2 separate regions of the Homo sapiens genome follow, and region 1 is linked to region 2. The links are contacts of gene promoters, found by promoter capture Hi-C in blood cells and fetal thymus (Javierre and others, 2016). All regions are on one chromosome and are shown on one strand. The core of a region is centred on a gene start or on the middle of the fragment in contact, and the rest is flanking DNA. Distances in the headings are between cores, read along the strand shown. Region 1 has its middle 8.4 kb from the start of RABGGTA. Region 2 holds the start of SLC7A8 (solute carrier family 7 member 8).

Evidence for each region. The method cuts DNA at HindIII sites, captures the fragments that hold promoters and counts their contacts. A CHiCAGO score of 5 or more calls a contact.
Region 1: a fragment that was not itself captured here is called in contact with the fragment with the promoter of SLC7A8 in region 2 in 1 of 17 cell types (M2 macrophages); the score reaches 6.6 in M2 macrophages.

The regions. Positions count from the first base shown.
Region 1 is chr14:24,278,609-24,281,308 of GRCh38, forward strand. It overlaps a transcript of NOP9 not described here. Among named protein-coding and RNA genes, the nearest start is that of RABGGTA, 8.4 kb to the left of the region's middle. RefSeq lists a silencer at 49-279 and enhancers at 837-986, 1,327-1,406. The HindIII fragment of the contact is 3,842 bases long and covers 1-2,700 here.
Region 2 is chr14:23,182,271-23,184,970 of GRCh38, forward strand. SLC7A8 (solute carrier family 7 member 8) reads right to left here and starts at 1,390. Exons shown (of 11, transcript NM_012244.4): 1 at 494-1,390. The coding sequence starts at 644. The HindIII fragment of the contact is 7,114 bases long and covers 1-2,700 here.

The DNA of each region.
Region 1 (2,700 bases), core at 70-2,569, 1.1 Mb after region 2:
GCACAAGAGTGAGATACGTGAGGGGTGGAATAACGATAGTGTATGAAGACAGGAGGACTCTGGCTGATAAGAGATTGGAAAGAATTGACTGTGATCTGCTTGCCAAAAGCACTAACATGACTTTGGGATGCACTAAGAGAGCTTTAGTACCCAGAACAATGGGGCTCATAGGCCCCAGACTCTGTGAGAGTCAAACCCTGTGAGGAGTGTGTGGCCCATTTTGAGAGGGACAGAGACAAACTGTAGAGTCCAGAGGTAGAAATCAGGATGGTGAGAAGAGCCCATGACCACAGGGAAGACATGAAGATACTGAACTGGGAGAGAAGATTCAAGGGGCAGATGATAATGGTCTTTCAACTCCTGGAATAGAAACCGAATTGATTCTGCATATCTTGAGAGCAAAGACCAAAGACCAGAGAGTGGATGTAGATCCTTTATGAGGAAGGACTTTCTAATAATTAAAGCTAATTATTCTACCAAAGGTAGAATGGGCCTCAATGAGAGGTGGGAGGCATTCAAGCATATGTTGGTCAACCACTTTGTGAGAACGTAGTAGTGGACATTCAGAGACCAGAGTCTCTCCACTCTGAAGTTCTGAAAGATGCTGATCCCTGGGATGGAGCAGGGGACTAGAGTAACTCAGAGCCCAAGAAGATCCTCTCCACTGCCCATTCCCCACAACTGACCATTCCTTGGACACTTGGTTTGAATGCTTGCATTCTTTCTCTTCTCCCTGCTCCCCAGTTCCTTCTGAGTCAGGCTGGGGAAATTGCTTGATGGCCCATGGGGGTTGCCACGTGCCTGTAGCACACTTCCTGGCTGGGGAAGAAGACGAAACAGGTTAGCCAGTGAGAAGGGAGGGCAGGTCCCCAAGGTTGCCCTAAAAGACAGAAGGGCCCCAGAGGGAAAGTCCCCACAAGAGCATTCTAACTCTCCCAGGGTGTGGTGGGTACTGACTCAGGTTGGCGTCTCTTGGGGAAGAGTTGAGGGAAAAGCAACCAAGAAATGGTGTTGAAAAGCTGGAAAAACTTCTTGAGCCAGCCAGAACTGAAGCCTCTGTGACAGGAGCCAGGCACTGCATGGTGACTGGTGATGATAATGACATGTTGGCTAAAAATTGCCCAGAGCACTGGTGGAGGTGGGAATGTAGCCAAGAAGCTCACTGCCTGGCAAGGCTGCTGCCCAGCTGCAGGGGGCACCATCACATTCGGTTTTGGGCATATATGATGTGAGTGGTACCAGGAGGCAGAAGCCCTGACGTTCTATGTCAAGTGAGAAGCAGAAGCTGTGGAACAAAGTGAGACTGTGGGTCCTGGGGAAGGATGGGATGCTGTCGCTGGTAGATGAACACAGGGGGCTAAGGACATACTCCTCTAGGGGAGGAAAGAGGAACCGCTCCTTTTGGGGGAGCACTCAGGCCTCGCCCTTTCCCTGTCCCATTCATCCATCCAACAAATACTGACTGAGGGCCCTCTGTGCCTGATCCACGCTAGGGTGGGGGCTGCGACAGTGAGCAGAGCACAGACAAAGTCCCTGCCTCACTGAGCATACAGGCTAGCCCTGGGCTGTTTAATCGAACTTTCTGGATGATGGAAATAATCACATAAGCAAATGTAGAAGGACAACTCTGTCAACTGCTCTGCCTTTATGGAGAGGCATATGGTGCTGGGTGAGCACCTGATGGGGAGCTGCCCTGTCTGAGAATGGGGGTGGGCTTCCTAAAGGAAGTGAGTGGGAGCTGGGGCTGTAGGTGAGCAGAAGCCCTGGCTTGGGGCTCGGTCAAGTGCCTCTTCTGTTCCTCTCAGCACCAGGTCCTGTGGTGCCTGCATTATAGCTCATCCTGTGGGTGCAGCGCCCCACTTCTGCTCCTGCTGTGAACTACCTACCCAAGGGGACTCATTTGACTGCATTTCCTCTCACCTAGCAAGGTGCCTGCACCATGGTGGTTGCTCAACTAACGTTAACATAATTTAGCCAGTCAATTATCAACCAACAATTATTGAGCGCCAGTACAGCTCAATATACAGTGGTGACCAAGACAGACAAGGTCCCTGCTGTCATAGGGCTTACATTATAGTTGGGGAGACAGTCCCTGTAGGAGCAAATACACACCTAAGACAATTTCAGGGAATCTAAGTGCCCCTGAGGGAAATGAAACAGGGTATTGAGACTAGTTGGGAAAGAATGAATGAATGAATAAATGGTGAGCCATGGAGGCACCCACCCACTGGGCTGGGGTGGGAGATGAGGAGGAGGAGTTGGGGATCTTAGAGCCCAGGGCAGGGAGCTTGGTCAGGGGTGGCTGCACTCCAGGCTGTAGGGCCAGGCCTCGCAGCACCGGGAGGGAGTGGACAGGGAGTGGTTCCGAAGCTCAGAATTCAGTGTAAAGGAGAATGCCTGGAACTGCTGACAGGAGCAATGCTGTGTTCCTGAGTCCCCTGTGGGCCCAATCATGACTCAGGCTTGAGCTCTGTGCCTGGCAAAGAACACTGAGGGGAAGAGGGGCAGGGAGGACCTGGAGTAGCCCTACAGAGGCATCCAAGGCTCCCACTGCTGGCAGCCCTGTTGGGAAATTCTCTCTTAGGCCCCTGAGCGGGGGTTTTGAGGCTGAGGTGTGGTGTGTGGGGCCGAGGCCAAGGACCGATGGATAGCAGGGATCAATGAGTCCTTAGAGGGTCAGTCCTGGGATACAGACACTGC
Region 2 (2,700 bases), core at 140-2,639:
ATAAAAAGGCAGGGCATTGCTCTTGCTATTTTTAATACCTATCCCATAGTTTCATTTAACATAAAACTGCAAAATAGCTACCAAATATACCTTAAAAGCCCATCCCCAGCCTGGGAATAATAGCTGCATACAAACTTGTTCAGGTCCCTCAGTCCCTCCTTAAACCTATTGAACTAGAACCTCCAAGTGTCGAGACCAGGACCTGTATTTTTAAGGAGTTCCCAGGCAATGCTAATCATCAGCCGGGTTTCTGACCACGATTTGCTCCATTCTATGAACACTGGGCAGAATCTTTGCCTGGTTTGGAGGAAGAGATGTATGATGTATTTCCTATGCCTCTCAAACTTGACCAGTGGAGGTGAGTTACAGCTCAGGTGACTGACAATCCTTTTCTAAGGAATAGGAAGAACAATAATGCTTTCGAAGGGTTAAGATCTCACAGGAGGACCACCAGAGGGGAGAGGAGGGGTCCGCGGGAAGGAATGGAACTCACCTACGATGATACCACAGGCACTGACCAATCCGATCTCTTTCTTCAGGGCTACTCCGCCCCCTCCGGAACCAGCCTCGGGGCTGGCGTCCGACTCGCCCCCACCTGGGTGTTTCTTTTCGGTGTTGTTTCGGTGCCTGGCTCCTTCTTCCATCCTTCTCAGTAGGATTGCAACCTCAAAAGCTGCCTCCCTTTCTAAATGCGTATTCGTGTAAATATATTGGGAGAGAGCTTTGAATTAGAACGTCCTTTTCCGAAATAGGAACCACTGCTACTCTCTAAAAAAGGCAAGCAGATAAAAGAGAACACGAAAAATATTCCTACTCCGCATTCACACTTTCTGGTCACTCGCGTTTACAAACAAGAAAAGTGTTGCTAAAAAAAAAAAAAAAAAAAAAGGCCAGGGGAGACATACATTTAAATATAAAAATAGAACTGTGCCAGCGACTCCGGCTGGAATTCTGCTGAAAGGGATGTGTCTTCAGAAACCAGGATGGTTCTGCTCTGTGCACCAGGCAGTGGCTTATTCAGAAAGTGAGCCTGGATTTCCCTTCACCTCTCCCCCTAATAAAACAGGAGACTGCCTTTACCTCCCCTTAGTTTTTTCTTTTATGATGAAGACAAAAGTAGTTTTCATTAACGGTAGGAAAAAAGAGCAATCCTCAGGTACTTTCTTCTCTTCTAGAAAAACAAACTGTGAACCTGACGGTGTTGCTCTAGATCTGGTTTCCACCTGCTTTGGGTTTCTTTTCCCTTCCCCGTCTTCTGCTTCCGCCTTTCCCAGGTGTCCTCTTCTTTCTCGCTGGTCTTCGTGCCCTTGTTTTCCTCTTTTCGATCCCCGTTCTACTGCACAGCCGGCCCCATCCCTCTGGTTTCGGGAGAGTGGCTTCTCCACACACTAACGTGCTTCTCTTTAGCGAGGGGTTTTATTCGCCCGCCGAGGCTCCGCCCCTGCCTCCTCTGCTCCCCTCCATCCTCAGTCCCGTCTCCTCCCTCCTCTGCAATTTAAGTATTAGCACAAAGCCCCCAAACAGCACTGAGAAAATGGACTAAGTTATTTCTTTTTGCAATCGTCTCTCGCTTTCTCCATCTTTCTCCTTGCAACCAAGTGGAAGTAAACTCCTTCCACGTCAACTGTTCCGGGAGAGCTCATTAGCTAGTATAATGTTACAGGTCATACAGCATCTGTGAGCTTTATAAATCAGGGAACAGTTGTGCCGATACTTTTAATGCCATCAGAAATAAACTAGCCAATGTATTAAAAAATATTTAGGACTGGATCCTGTATTTGAGAATACAGGAGAGAACGTTGAAAGGACATCATCTTCGAGTTTCCTAAAAATAGGGGGAATCGACGGGTGGGGGAGGGAAATGGAAGGAATTAACAATGGGAAAAAGGTTCTTTTAGCGTAATTGTGAGCTACGAAGAGTACAGAGGAAACAAAATCGCCAGGCGCGGTGGCTCACGCCTGTAATCCCAGCGCTTTGGGAGGCTGACAGGGGAGGATCACGTGAGCCCAGGAGTCTGAGACCAGCCTGTGCAACAGAGCGAGACCCCGTCTACTAAAAATTTTAAAATTAGCCGGGTGCAGTGGTGCAGGCCTGTAGTCTTAGCTACTCAGGAGGCTGAGGCTGGAGGATTGCTTGAGCTCAGGAGGTCAAGGCTGCAGTGAGCTATGATGACGCCACTGCACTCCAGCCTGGGAGGTAGAGCAAGACCCTGTCTCAAAAACAAAACAAAACAAAAAGCCAGAAAAACCACATGCACATACAAAAAGATAAAAAACAAAATCACCAGGTAGCCTTGTTGTTCACAGCTCTTATTTAGGACTGGCTGAAACATGAAAAAAAATGACTCAAACCCTGATCCTGCAACTTCTAATATTTTTGCATTTATAAACTATTTGAAAAGCACACATGGGGAATTATCAGTATATCGCTGATCATGAAACATACTTGTTGATGTTAGAATAACTAGCTTATTACCATATCGAAATGATGCCTCCACTTTCTTGAAGAATTTCACTCAGAAACTGCTGCCTTAAGGTGAGAGCAACAATGTCTATTTATAATTGTAAATTATTTCGAAAAAACAGCATGAAGCAATATAGTGGACAACACTATAAGTCTAAAATAAAGTTATTTTTAGCCTTATTAAATATATTATGCAAAATTATTTAATTTTAAAGTGGGCCTAAAAAATTAAGTTC